Regions from separate parts of the Homo sapiens genome. Here region 2 is linked to region 1. Evidence: promoter capture Hi-C in 16 types of primary human blood cells and fetal thymus (Javierre and others, 2016). All regions are on one chromosome and are shown on one strand. Each heading gives the region's core, a stretch centred on a gene start or on the middle of the fragment in contact. The rest is flanking DNA. Distances are from core to core; before and after follow the strand shown.

Region 1 (7,406 bases), core at 715-3,214:
GCCCCTACCCCGGCGAAGCATGTTCCCCCCGACGCCCCCCTTGGCACAAGTCAGATGAAGCACGTTCTGCCGGGGAGGCCCTCACCTTCCAGAGAGGACAGACACAGATTTCCTGCTGGGGGAGGGAGGAGTCCACGCATCCTGATGCTGCCTGGAAGCTTATTTTCCCGTGGCCAGGACGCATTTCTCTGAGTGGAAACAGGTTCTTGCATGTGGATGTGTGTTTCCCCAGGCAGACGGCCCCTCTCTTCCCAGCACTTCCCTGCCTCCCCCAGGCCTCAGGCCCAGCACCCAGTTCCTCCTCACATGGCAGGTGAGCACAGACTTCTAGTTGGCAGGAGCTGAGGAGGGTGAACAAACCCCGAGGGAGGCCCGGCCCTTGCTCCCGAGTTGGGGGGAGGGGGTGTGGCAACGTGCCCCCCGCAGAGGCCACGCATGTTTGACCAAAGCCCTCATTGTGGTCCGAGGACAGCCTTTTCCCCAGGCCTCAGAGCATTGCTCATCCGTGCCAAACTGGGTAGGTGGATTTGAGCGGAAAGACTCCCAAAATGTGCCAAGAATTTCCCAGTCCCAGGCAGGGCAGGGGAAACTAAGGGCAAGCAGGATACAGGGCGAGGGATGTGGCAGGTGAGGGGGCTCCCGCCTGTGCCCCTTCTCCTCACCATGTCTCCCCCACCCTGCCTCAGTTCTCCGTTCCCCTTCATCTCCGTCCCCCTCTTTGAAGCTGTCCCCATCTCAGTGTCAGACCAGCCTTCTCCTCAGCTGACCACCCTCCTCTGACCCACGCCCCCTCCTTGTCTGAAAGAAAGGAGCCTTGAATGGTGGAGGGAGGCAGTGGGGAGAAAGGTCTCACCGGACAGGTTGGGAGAATGAGGTCAGCGGTGCTGGGGAACAGATGGAGGGGGCAGTGGGGACAGGGCTTGGGCAGACACCAGCAGGAATAATTTGAAATGTGTGAGGTGACTCCCCGGAGGGCCTTGGGCTTGGGCATTTGGGAAAAGAATGATGTCTGGAAGGGCTTAAGGGACACAGTGGACGAGGGGAGAGTCCTCATCTGCTGGCATTTTGTGGGGTGTTAGTGCCAAACTTGAATAGGGGCTGGGGTGCTGTCTTCCACTGACACCCAAATCCAGAATCCCTGGTCTTGAGTCCCCAGAACTTTGCCTCTTGACTGTCCCTTCTCTTCCTACCTCCATCCATGGAAAATTAGTTATTTTCTGATCCTTTCCCCTGCCTGGTCTAGCTCCTCTCCAAACAGCCATGCCCTCCAAATGCTAGAGACCTGGGCCCTGAACCCTGTAGACAGATGCCCTCAGAATTGGGGCATGGGAGGGGGGCTGGGGGACCCCATGATTCAGCCACGGACTCCAATGCCCAGCTCCTCTCCCCAAAACAATCCCGACAATCCCTTATCCCTACCCCAACCCTTTGCGGCTCTGTACACATTTTTAAACCTGGCAAAAGATGAAGAGAATATTGTAAATATAAAAGTTTAACTGTTGGTTGTGCCTGCTCTGTTGTGGGGAGGGCGGTCTCTAAAGAAACAAGCCCTGGGGAAGTGACGAGGGAGGAGGGGTCTTTTCAGTGACCAGCTCTGAGGTCTGAGAGGAAGGGGGAGTGTGTGCTGGGGTCTGGTTGCCATGGTAATGGGTCTGTTTGGCAAATGAATGTCAGGACCCGTGTCTATGCCGAGACTGGAGCCTGGTGTCGTTCTATAATGGAAGGACAAAGGCTGATGGGGGCAGATGTCAAACAGGCCAGAGGCCCAGTGGGCTGGTGTAGGCAGCTAGCTCAGCAGAGGTATGTGAGGTGAGAGGCATGGCCTCTGCCAAGGCCTGGACTCAGGCGAGAGGGTCAGCCACGGGTCCAGGACTCAGGGTAGCCCCTTGGCACACTGGAAGGGAGTGGCCTGGCACCATTGTGACCCGTTCACTCCCAAGACCCTCAGGGACAGGCAGGCAGTCAGTGGACACTGTCGGCACGGTGGGCTGGGGGCGTAAGGGCCCCGGTGGTCCTAGGGACCCCATGGCCATGGTTGAGCGGCCGAGGCCCGAGTGGGCCTCGTATCACAACTGCAACAGCAACAGCTGCCAGGACCTGGGCAACTCTGTCCTGTTGCTGCTGGGCCTCATCATCTGCATTAACATTAGCATCAATATAGTGACCCTGGTCAGGGTGGGGCCAGATGGGAGGGAGCTGGTGGGATAGTGGGGGGCAGGCCTGCCGGCCAGGGCCTACCTGGGATCACTGTGTCTTCCCCCACCTAGCTCTGGAGCCGATTCCGTGGTGTCTTATACCAAGTGTTCCATGATACCATTTGTGAGAAAGGTAAGAGGTCTGGGGGCTGGGACATAGGAGGGGCAGAAACCAAGTGCTCTAGCCTCAGCCCTAAATTAGCCCCTTCCCTTCTTGCTCGCCCCTCTCAGACAACATAGCTGTGTGGCTGCCCTTCCTGGGCCCTGCCTCTCCATGCCTGTAGGAGCTGGCCTCCCCACTAGTCTCACCTCTCCCCCATCCACAGAAGCTCCCAAGTCATCATTACTCAGAAAGCAGACCCAGCCCCCTAAGAAGCAGAGTTCTCCTGCAGTCCATCTTCGGTGCACCATGGACCCTGTGATGATGACTGTGTCCCCGCCCCCAGCTCACCGCCATCGCCGTCGAGGCTCTCCCACACGCTGTGCTCACTGCCCAGTAGCTTGGGCTCCTGACACTGATGACGAGAAGCCTCATCAGTACCCAGCCATCTGCTCCTACCACTGGGATGTCCCTGAGGACTGGGAAGGCTTCCAACACACTCAGGGGACCTGGGTTCCCTGGTCTCAGGATGCCCCAGAGTCCCCTCCCCAGACCATCCGCTTCCAGCCTACCGTAGAGGAAAGGCCCCTCAAAACAGGCATATGGTCCGAGCTGGGCCTAAGGGCCTATGTGTATCCTGTGAACCCCCCACCTCCCAGCCCTGAGGCTCCTAGCCACAAGAACGGTGGGGAGGGGGCGGTGCCAGAGGCAGAGGCGGCTCAGTACCAGCCTGTCCCAGCTCCCACCCTGGGCCCAGCAGTCATCCCTGAATTTTCCCGGCACCGCTCCTCAGGCCGAATAGTGTATGATGCCCGGGACATGAGACGGCGGCTTCGGGAACTGACCCGGGAGGTGGAGGCCCTGTCCGGCTGCTACCCCCTAGCCTCTGGATCCAGCACTGCCGAGGAGACAAGCAAGAATTGGGTGTACCGTTCCCTAACTGGGAGGTGACTGGAAAAAAATAAAAAGGAGAGAGGAGGTGATCTGTGGTGGTGCTGGGGTGCCAGGGCCCACACAGCACCTAGAAGCTGTGGCTGTGAAGAGAATGCTCTCCCTAGCCACAGGGCCCTGAGCCCTGAGGACCCTCATTAACCTTTTGCCCCACAGGCCTGTCCCTGTCCTCAGCCTTTCCTAGGCCCTTCTGGGTTCCAAGGCTCTTACCTGCCTCTACCTTGTTTTCAATTTTTTTTTTTTTTTGAGACAGGGTCTTCTCTGTTGCCCGGGCTGGAGTGCAGTGGTGCAATCACAGTTCACTGCAGTCCCAACTGTCTCCCACCTCAGCCTCCTGAGTCACTAGGACTACAGGCATGGGCCACTAGTTTGTTGTTGTTGTTGTTGTTTGTTCGGTTGGTTGGTTTTTGTGTGGGGGGGGTTGTTTTTGTTTTTAAGACAGAGTCCTATTCTTGTCACCCACACTGGACTGCAATGGCACAATCTTGGCTCACTGCAACCTCTGCCTCCCAGGTTCAACCAATTCTCCTGCCTTCAGCCTCCTGAGTAGCTGGGACTACAGGCGTGTGCCACCATGCCCTGCTAATTTTTGTATTTTTAGTGCAGATGGGGTTTTGCCATGTCGGCCAGGCTGGTCTTGAACTCCTGACCTCAGGTGATCCGCCCGCCTCAGCCTCCCAAAGTGCTGGGATAACAGGTGTGAGCCACCCCACCCCAGCCGCACCACTATTTTTTGTAGAGATTGGGTTTCACTACTTTGCCTAGGCTGGTCTCAAACTCCTGGGCTCAATCGATCTGCCTGCCTCAACCTCTGAAAGTTCTGGGATTACAGGTGTGAGCCACTGTGCCCGGACTGTTTCCTCCCCCTCCCCTGAGGCAGGGTCTTGATCTGTCACTCAGGCTGGAGGGCAGTGGTGCAATCATGGCTCACTGGAGACTCAACCTCCTGAGCTCAAGCAGTCTTCCTGCCTCAGCCTCCTGAGTAGCTGGGACAACAGGCACCACCACGCCCAGTTAATTCCTTGTTTTCTTTAGTGCACAGAGAAGCCCCTAAATTCTACCCCAGGTCCCCAGGCAGTCGTGCACTAGAGGAGAGATCTCCATCTCCATGGCCCTAGCTCCTCAGAAGGCTGGTGCCTGCCAGAGCCCAGCGTTAGGCTGCAGCCACCGGTGAGGCCTGGTTCCCACGTAAGCCCTGATTTATTTGGGGAGGGATGGCTGAGAGGGCGTCTAGTCCTTCACAGTTCCCCAGTCACCCTGAAGGTCCTATACCCTTAAGCAGGATTGGAGCAGAGGAGGAAATATTGGGGCCCCCTTGGCTGGGCGCAGTGGCTAACGCCTGTAATCCCAGCACTTTGGGAAGCCGAGGCGGGCGGATCACGAGGTCAGGAGGTCGAGACCTCTTGGCTAACACAGTGACACCCCGTCTCTACTAAAAAATGAAAAATAAAAAATAAAAAAATTAGCTGGGCATGATGGTGGGCGCCTGTAGTCCCAGCTACTTGGGAGGCTGAGGCAGGAGAATGGTGTGAACGTGGGAGGCAGAGGTTGCAGTTAGCCAAGATGGCGCCCCTGCACCCCAGCCTGGGCGACAGAGCGAGACTCCATCAAAAAAAAAAAAAAAGGCCGGGCGTGGTGGCTCACATCTGTAATCCCAGCATTTTGGGAGGCCGAGGCGGGCAGATCACAAGGTCAGGAGATTGAGACCATCCTGGCTAACATGGTGAAACCCCATCTCTACTAAAAATATGAAAACAAAAAATTAGCCGGGCGTGGTGGTGGGCGCCTATAGTCCCAGCTACTTGGGAGGCTGAGGCAGGAGAATGGTGTGAACCCAGGAGGCGGAGCTTGCAGTGAGCCGAGATTGCACCACTACACTCCAGCCTGGGCAACAGAGCGAGACTCCATCTCAAAAAAAAAAAAAAAGAAGAGAAATATTGGGGCCCCCCTCAAGAGGTACCTCACTGTAACATCACAGCTCTCTGTGACCTCACTCCTTTGATTAACTCACCATGTCACCAGTGAGGAGACTAAGTTCAGAGAAGCTAAGGGTCTTGCTCATGGTTACACAGACACTGAGGATCAAGCTCATGGCCTCAGATGCTCCATCCCATTGCTGCAGAGCCAGCCTGACCCACCAGAACCTCCCACCTTCCCCAGTTCACCATGTGAACTCAGAAACTGAGAAACAGAGAAACTCAGGCCCTGCCTTTCTGCTACACAATTGGGATCATATGCACATGCACACACATACCACTTGAGAACAAGCAGCTGTGTGCGTGAGCCCAGGCTGAGGGAGCTGGACTTCACCTTCCACTCTAGACAGATTCCTGGAATGTGAGCAGACGGACCGTTTACAAATGGCCCTACTTCTCTCATTCAACTAACGTTACTGATCATTTTCAATGGATTCCATTCAGTGGAATCTGAATCTACTCTGCATCTACTCTGTGTTTGGAGGCTGGATGGGATATGATCACTGGCCTTTCTTTCTGCTGAGTGGTTCACTGTGTAAACAAATGGCTTGCAGTCTCCAGGGCACCACAGACCCCAGTGATGCACCTGTTTTAAGTCAAACACTCTTTTTGGTATATTAACAATTACATGTATTTTGTGCTTTGTTAATTTCATGTGGTTTTCTTGTTGTTGTTGTTGTTGTTGTTGGGTTGTTTGTTTGTTTTGAGACAGTCTCACTCTGTCACCCAGGCCGGACTTCTGTGGCGCGATCTTGGCTCGCTGCAACCTCCACCTCTCAGGTTCAAGCAATTCTCCTGCCTCAGCCTCCCAAGTAGCTGGGATTACAGGCGCCCACCAACATGCCCAGCTAATTTTTGTGTTTTTAGTAGAGGTTTCGCCATGTTGGCCAGGCTGGTCTCAAACTCCTGACCTCAGGTGGTCCACCTGCCTGGGATTATAGGCGTGAGCCACTGCGCCCAGCAAGTTTCCTTCCTTCCTTCCTTCCTTCCTTCCTTCCTTCCTTCCTTCCTTCCTTCCTTCCTTCCTTCCTTTCTTGTTTTTTTGGAGACAGATTCTCGATGTGTCACCCAAGCTGGAGTACAATGGCGAGAGCTCAGCTTGCTGCAACCTCCACCTCCTGGGTTCAAATGATTCTTCTGCCTCAGCCTCCCGAGTAGCTGGGACTACAGGCGCGCATCACCACACCCAGCTAATTTTTGTATTTTTAATACAGACGGGGTTTCACTATGTTGGCCAGGTTGGAACTCCTGACCTCAGGTGATCCAGCCACCTCAGCCTCCCAAAGTGCTGGGATTATAGGCATGAGCCACCGCGCCCAGCTCGGGTTTTCTTCAGGTAGTAGCTTAACCGTTTTTCACCTTGGAGTAAGGGTGGGTTGGTGGGAGTGTAGGTGGTTAGGTTGGAGAAACCATGGCTGGGGTTGGTTCCCAGCAGAGGCAGCCACCTCAGTGAGTCAGATGTCAGTGTGACGAAGTGGCTGGTGGGCTCAAGGACCACCAACACCTAGGGCTGGAGTCTGGCCAGGAAGAATTGGGCAGAGATGGGAGCTAGAGGACTTTTGACAGGGAAATGGGCAGAGTAGGGAGGGGCTGGTACAGCAGGGTGATGCCTGAGGGGACGCAGTGTCACCCGCCCATCTAGTCACCCTAGATGCTGGCCCCAAAGTAACCATGGGGCAAGGCACGCCAACAGGCTATGTAAGTTGCCATAATGTCTCAAAAGAACAATGAAACAGGACATATCTGATGCATGCTTCAACCCTGTGACGACCGTGTCAGCCTCTAACTACCCTATCTTCAGCTCAGGAACCAGCTGTGGGGTTAAGCAAACCTCGTGGAGATAGAGGAACAGACTGAGATCTGGGATATGTGGGGACCAGGCTCCACCAAGTAGGAGCCAAGGGTGGAGATGGCGGTAGAAGGGGCCAGCAGAATGGATAAAAGCTGCCACCTCCACATTGTGACTCTCGCTAGCTCACCTCATTGTGACCTGGCTCCCTTACCAGCTTGTAGTTATCTCCGGGGATTGGCATGAGTGCAGTGTGGGTTGGGGCCGGGGGTGGGGGGCAGAGGGGGGTGGCCCAGGTGGCCCTAGGACCCCCCCTCCATGGAAAACCAGCTATGGCATAACACCGTGAGATGTTGCAATCAATACCAAGAAAGCCCCCACGATGCCGAGGACAT
Region 2 (7,406 bases), core at 2,512-5,011, 350 kb before region 1:
ATCCCAGCACTTTGGGAGGCCGAGGCAGGTGGATCACGAGGTCAGGAGTTCAAGACCAGCCTGGCCAACATGGTGAAACCTCGTCTGTACTAAGATACAAAAAAATTAGCCGAGCATGGTAGCGAGCACCTGTAACCCCAGCTACTTGGGAAGCTGAAGCAGGAGAGTCACTTGAACCTGGGAGGCAAAGGTTGCAGTGAGCCAAGATCACACCATTGCACTCCAGCCTGGGTGACAGGGCAAGACTCTGTCTCTGAAAAAAATAAAAAGTAGGGGGAGGTACTACACACTTAAACAACTCACACACTATCATGACAGCTGCACCAAGGGGAATGGTGTTAAACCATGAGAAACTGCCTCCATGACCCAATCACTTCCCACTAGGCCCCACCTCCAACAATGGGAATTACAATCGAATATGAGATTTGGGTGGGGACATAGATCCAAATCATATTATTCCACCCCTAGCCCCTCCCAATCTCATGTCCTTCTCACATTTCAAAATATAAGCATGCTTTGCCAATAGTCCTCCAAAGTCTTAACTCATTCCAATACTAACTCAAAAGTCCACAGTCCAAAATCTCATCTGAGACAAGGCTAGTACCTTCCACCTATAAGCCTGCAAAAATCAAAAACAAGTTAGTTATTCCCAAGATACAATGGAGGTATATACATTGGGTAAATACTCCCATTCCAAAAGGGAGAAATCAGCCAAAATAAAGGGGCTACAGGATGCATGCAAATCTGAAATCCAGCAGGGCAATCATTAAATCTTAAAGCTTCACAGTAATCTCCTTTGACTCCATGCCTCACATCCAGGACACACTGGTGTGAGGGGTGGCCTCCCAAGGTCTTGGGCAGCTCTGCCCCTATGGCTTTGCAGGGTTCAGCCCCTGCAGCCACTCTCATGGGCTAGTTTTGAGTATTGTGCCTGTAGCTTTTCCAGGCACAGGGTGCAAGCTGCTAGTGGATCTACCATTCTGGGATCTGGAGGATGGTGGCCCTCTTCTCACAGCTCTACTAGGCAGTGCCCCAGTGGGGACTTTGTGTGGGGGTTTCAGCCTCACATTTCCCCTCCCCACTGCCCTAGTAGAAGTTCTCTATAAGGGCTCCACCCCTGCAGCAGGCTTCTACCTGAACATCCAGGCTTTTCCATATATCCTCTGAAATCTAGGTGGAGACTCCCAAGCCTCAACTCTTGTATTCTGTGCACCTGCAAGCTTAACATCACATGGAAGCCACCAAGACTTATGACTTGCACCCTCTGAAGCAGTAGCCCAAGCTGTACCTGGGCCCCTTTTATCCACATCCAGAGCTGGGTGCAGAGACCAGTGTCCCAAGGCTGTGCAGGACAGTAGAGCCCTGGGCCTGGCCCAATAAACCATTCTTCTCTCCTAGGCCTCCAGGCCTGTGATAGGAGGGGCTGCCATGAAGGTCTCTAAAATGCCTTTGAGGATTTTTTCCCATTCTCTTTACTATTAGCACTTGCCTTCCTCTCAGTTATGCAAATTTCTGTGACCTGCTTGAATTCCTCCCCTGAAAATGGGCTTTTCTTTTCTAACACGTGGCAGAGCTGCAAATTTTCCAAACTTTTATATTCTCCTTCCCTTTTAAATGTAAGTGCTAGTTTTAGGTCATTTCTTTGCTCATGCATATGAATATGTGCTGTTAGAAGCACCCAGGCCACATCTTCTACACTTTGCTGCTTAGAAATTTCTTCCACCAGATACCTTAAATCATCTCTCTCAAGTTCAAGGTTCCATAGATCCCTAGGGCATGGGCACAATCCAACCAAAATTTTTGCCAAAGTATAAAAAAAGTACCTTTGTCCCTATTCACAATAAGTTTCTCATCTCCATCTGAGACCTCATTGGTCTGGCCATCTCTGTCCATATCACTACCAGCATTTGGGTCACAACCATTCAACAAGTCTCTAGAAAGTTCCAAACTTCCCCTCACCTTCCTGTCTTCTTCTGAGCCCTCCACACTTTTCCAACCTCTGCCCATTACCAAGTTCCAAAGTCACTTCCACATTTTCAGGTATCTTTATGGCAATGCTCCACATCTTGGTACCATTTTATTAGTTTGTTCTCACACTGCTATAAAGAAATACCTGAGACTGGGTAATTTATACAGAAAAGAGGTTTAATTGGTTCACGGTTCTGCAGGCTATACAGCAAGGATGGTGGCATCTGCTTGGCTTCTCGAGACACCTCAGGAAACTTACAATCATGGCGGAAGGTAAAGGGGAAATATGACATCTTACATGGCCGAAGCAGGAGGAAAAGAGAGCAGGGAGGTGCTACACACTTTTAGACAACTAGATCTCACGAGAACTCACTACCATGACAGAAGTACCAAGGGGGATGGTGTTAAACCATGAGAAACTGCTCCCATGATCCATTTATCTCCTAACAGGCCTCCAGCATTGGGGATCGCAACTGAACATGAGGTTTGAGCAGGGATAGATTCAAACCACATCACTGTCCCACCACTGCTCCAACACTTTTGCAAGATTTTTTCTTGCAAAAAAAAGACTTTTTCTCTGACCATCCATCACTAAACCTGTACCTCACCATTACCACCACACCACTACACCCCATTATTTCTGTCTTCTCTGTCCACCCCGTGACCCTCACTTTGGGATCGGACCACACAGATGACAACCAGGAGCAGGAGGCCGAGGCACAGGGACAGCAGGAGGAGGCAGTCCCAGAGTGCAGATGCTGCAGGAGGGCCTGGGGAGGAGGCAGCCCTCAGGAGGAGGGGGTGTCAAGACGAGGAGCGTCCAGGACATGACAGAGACGGGAAGAGGAGAGGGGCCAGGGAGCTGTCTAGAGAGGAGGGCTGAGCATAAAGGACACCAGGAAAGGGCGGGATGGGAAGGATTTCAGGGTGGGGGATGCCCAGGCCTTTGACCTCAGGGACCAGCACAAGTCCTCAGTCACACAGGCCCCTCACACCCGTGGGGACCACCAAACACACACACACAGATGGGGGATAATGGAGATATGTGAGGTCCCATGGTCAGAGCTGAGGAAGGGGCAGAAGGACACAGGGAGAGCTGGGGGCAGCCAGGCCCTTCATAGGCTCACGCTCATCTGTGAAAGCAGGTGAAATTATGGTCTTCCTTTGAAGACTTTCCTAAATAACCCATGTTTTTCCTGCTTCCTGTCCCTGTGCCACTGAGGACCCTAACTCCCCTGAAGACTAGGACCACAGAGGCCAGGCCCTGAACCCTCAGAGAGGGGGATCTCCACAGTCCATACTGGAGTCACAGAAATGACCAAAACCAGGAGCCCTGGAGCTACAGCACAGGGGAGACATGAGAAACCCCTCATTGCAGATAGAGGCATTGTCGGCCGGGCGCGGTGGCTCACGCCTATAATCCCTGCACTTTGGGAGGCCAAGGATCACCTGAGGTTGGGAGTTCGAGACCAGCCTGACCAACGTGCAGAAACCCCGTCTCTACTAAAAATATGAAATTAGCCAGGCATGGTGGCGCATACCTGTAATCCCAGCTACTCAGGAGGCTGAGGCAGGAGAATCACTTGAACCCAGGAGGTGGAAGCTGCAGTGAGCCGAGATCACATCATTGCATTCCAGCCTGGGCAACAAGAGCAAAACTCCATCAAAAAAAAAAAAAAAAGAAAGAAGGAAAGAAGGAAAAGAAAGAAAAGAAAGGAAAGGAAGAAAAGAAGGAAAGAAAGAAAAGAAAAGAAAGGAAAGAAAAGAAAGAAAAGAAAGAAAAGAAAGAAAGAAAGAAAGAAAGAAAGAAAGAAAGAAAGAAAGAAAGAAAGAAAGAAAGAAAGAGTTACTGTCTCTGAGAGAGGCACCATCCTTAGACTAGACCTCCTGGGCTTCACACTTTAGAGGGCCCTCACTGGCCCTCCTGTGACTCCATCCCTTCCTGTGGGACTGGGAATCTCCAGGGCCAAGGTGATGTGCTCACCCCAAGCCATACCTGCCCTTCTAGACCATCCTCTGGGTACCTGGGAGCCCAGATCGTCCACCCAGGCAGCTGTACACCTGTCTTCCCCGGGCCTGTCCCCTGGGTGGCAGACCCTGCTCCTGGTGTGCCCACCCTGAGGCTCAAGTGGTAGCCATGGGCAGAGGTTGGGGGGGTGAATGGAGGGTGTGGACCATGCTGAAGGTGTCCTCACGTGTCCCCCAGGCTCCTCAAGGTGCAAGACTGAGCTGAGGGAAGGGAGCAAAGGGAAGTGAGCTCAAGAGGAACTAGCTCAGGCCTCTGCAAACTTTGAGGGGTGGGCCTGTCTCTGGGGTCTTCTGCTTGTCTTACCTTTTCTTTTTCTTTTTTTTTTTTTTCTTGAGACAGAGTCTCGCTCTGTTGCCAGGCTGGAGTGTAGTGGCGCGATCTCGGCTCACTGCAACCTCCGCCTCCCAGGTTCAAGCAATTATCCTGCCTCAGCCTAATAAGTAGCTGGGACTACAGGCACCCGCCACCATGCCCAGCTAATTTTTGTATTTTTTAGTAGAGACAGGTTTCACCATGTTGGCCAGGATGGTCTTGATCTCTTGACCTCACGATCCGCCTGCCTCAGCCTCCCAAAGTGCTGGGATTACAGGTGTGAGCCACTGCACCCGGCCCAATTTTTTATTTTTAGTTGAGACGGGGTTTCGCCATGTTGGCCAGGCTGGTCTCGAACTCCTGACCTCAGGTGATCCATCCACCTCAGCCTCCCAAAGTGCTGGGATTACAGGCGTGAGCCGCCGCACCTGGCCTGTCATACCTTTTCTAAGATCATGTTCCTTCTCACTCTCTAAGCACTTGAGATCTTCATACTTCATTGACATCCTTGGCCCAAGTGGTCTCTGTGGCTGCAGGAGCTGAGATGGAGGCAGAGAAAGGGCTCCGAGGGGGAGCCTGAAATAAGGGCTGGAGGTGGGTGTGGAGCTGGTTTTGAGGTAGGAAGTGAGGATTCGATAGTGGCTGAGCCAGGCGTGAGAACTAGGAATGTGGCTGGGGGCTGGGTTTGCAGGTGAGGTTGAAACAGCGATCACAATTGGGGTTGTATCTGGGGTTAGGATGGGGTTGACTTACTTGGGGCTAAAAATCAGATTGGGTCTCAGGCTAAGATTGTAGACAGGGCTCCTTTGGAGTTGGGTCTGAGTTTGGGGCTGAGATTGGAAACATGTGGGATGGAGCATGGGGGTGTAGTACAGCTAGGCTGGAGCTGCAGTGGGGACAGAGATTGAATTTAGGGATGAATTTAGAGCCGACATTGGGACTGCAGTTGGGGCTGGAACTGGGATTGTATTGGTTTGGGGCTGTCCAACCCAATCTGGAAGTCAGTGGAGAGATCATTTCAATCTCCTCCAATAACTAGTTCAATCTGTGATCCATCTTCCCAGTTATTTCCACCTATAACACAAAGTCGCCCTCTCCATATTTTCCCTAATGCCCTCCCTGCCTCCGCCGTCCAGTTACCTGTACAAAACTAGAGAATGTAATTGTTTGCTTTCTTAGGTAGCAGAATTACCAGGTCAGGAAATTCTAGAGGGAACTGACTTGTATTGGTTCTCCTGCTCCCCTCTACATTCTGTGGCCCTGGTAGAACTGTGATCTCACGCTCCTGCTGGGTGGCTTCTCTCCCATGATCCAAAATCTTTCAGACCCAGGGGAGAGAGGCACAGAGCTGCTTGGGTGGATGATCTGGGTGGATGTTCTTTACTTTTGTGCCTTCAGGCTTCAGAGTGGTGATGTCTCTGCTATTCTTAGCCACAGGGACTTCACCAACTTTTGTTGGCTTCCTCAACCCTGCTCACACTCTGTAAATGTCATTAAACTCTTTTCAATAAACCCTTTTGTGGCCAAGCACTGCAGCTCATACCTGTAATCCTAGCAGTTTGGGAGGCCAAGGCAGGACAATCGCTTGAGCCCAGGAGTTTGAAACCACCCTGGGCAACATAGTGAGACCCTATCTCTACAAAAAATAAACTTAGCCAGGCATGGGGGCACACATCTATAGTCTCAGCTACTCAGGAGGCTGAGAAGAGAGGATTGCTTGAGTCCAGGAGTTCAAGGCTGCAGTGAGCTATGATCGCACCACTGCATTCTAGCCTGGGTGACAGAACAAGAACCTGTCTCTCTATATATATATGTAGAGAGAGAGAAAGAGAAATAAATCCTTTGGTTTTGACACCTGTATCTTGCTGGAACTGATTAAAAAAAAACCCTTTGAATAAAATTATAAATGTTTACTATGGTACACAGAAAAATAAAAAAGAATAAACTCCATTTGGAAGTCTAACAGGCTCCTCAAACTCAACATGTTCAAAATAAAGCTTCTTATCTCCTCATCCCACCCACAAAACCAGCTTCTCACACGGTCTTCCCATCTTAATTAACTGGGACTCCATCCTTCTAGGTTTTCAAGCCCCAAACCTGGAATTATCCTTGACTTTCTCATTTTCCCAAACCCCTCAGACAACCCATCAGCAAATCCTGACAGCTAATTCAGACATTCCTATATGCCAGGGAGCTTTCTGGGTACAGTAATACAGCAATGAATGGGTCCTGCCATCCCTTAATGAACTTAAAAAGTTGGTTCTTAATAGCTGAAATGCAGCTGGGTGTGGTGGCTCATGCCTGTAATCCCAGCACTTTGGGAGGCCGAGGCGGGCTGATCACCTGAGGTCGGGAGTTGGAGACCAGCCTGACCAACCTGGAGAAACCCCATCTCTACTTAAAACACAAAAGTAGCCAGACATGGTGGCAGGCTCCTGTAATCCCAGCTACTCGGAAGGCTGAGGCAGGAGAATCACTTGAACCTGGGAGGCGGAGGTTGCAGTGAGCTGAGATGACGCCATTGCACTCCAGCCTGGGCAACAAGAAGGAAATTCCCGTCTCAAAAAAAAAAAAAAAAAAAAAAATCAAAATAGCTGAGATGCTTCCCTGGTATATGCTGGATTGATTGAAAAAACAGAAATCTCCACCCCTCTCTATATCCATTCTCTACACAGTATGACTTTGTAGACCCCCCCCCAACCCCCCACCAAAATGTGGAATCTATTTCTCTGGCCCTTGAACCTGGGCAGCCTTGCAATCTGCTTTGGCCAATAGGATGCAGCAAAAACGATGCTTCAGTTCCAAGCAAGGCTCTGAAGTCCTTGCAGTCTTCCAATTTCTCTCTTGGACCCCCACCCAGCCATTCTGTGAACAAGGCCAGGCTAAGCTAATGTGGCCCAGTCATCCCCATTGTCCCAGCCCAGAGCCAGCCAAATATGAGACATGGGAGCAAGGCTACCCTAGACCAGCCAACCCCAAGCCAACCCACCAGCTGACCACGGACGCATAAACAAGCCCAGCCAAGATGACCCAAACCTGGCCAGACCAGACCTATAGCCTCATGAGCTATAATAAATGCTTACTGTATAAGCCCTGA

The links. Contacts are between HindIII fragments. The CHiCAGO score rates a contact against its expected background, and 5 or more counts as called.
Region 2: a contact is called between a fragment that was not itself captured here and the fragment with the promoter of SPEM1 in region 1, in 1 of 17 cell types (monocytes). The highest score is 5.4, in monocytes.

Annotation. Positions count from the first base shown.
Region 1 is chr17:7,418,360-7,425,765 of GRCh38, forward strand. It overlaps SPEM1 (spermatid maturation 1), which reads left to right and starts at 1,965. Exons shown (of 3, transcript NM_199339.3): 1 at 1,965-2,169; 2 at 2,268-2,328; 3 at 2,522-3,273. The coding sequence starts at 2,026. The coding sequence ends at 3,246. NLGN2 (neuroligin 2) reads left to right here. Exons shown (of 7, transcript NM_020795.4): 7 at 1-1,501. It overlaps SPEM2 (SPEM family member 2), which reads left to right and starts at 7,257. Exons shown (of 3, transcript NM_175734.5): 1 at 7,257-7,406. The coding sequence starts at 7,330. RefSeq lists an enhancer at 1,449-1,968. The HindIII fragment of the contact is 12,172 bases long and covers 157-7,406 here.
Region 2 is chr17:7,066,853-7,074,258 of GRCh38, forward strand. No RefSeq gene overlaps it. Among named protein-coding and RNA genes, the nearest start is that of CLEC10A, 9.7 kb to the right of the region's middle. The HindIII fragment of the contact is 5,086 bases long and covers 1,219-6,304 here.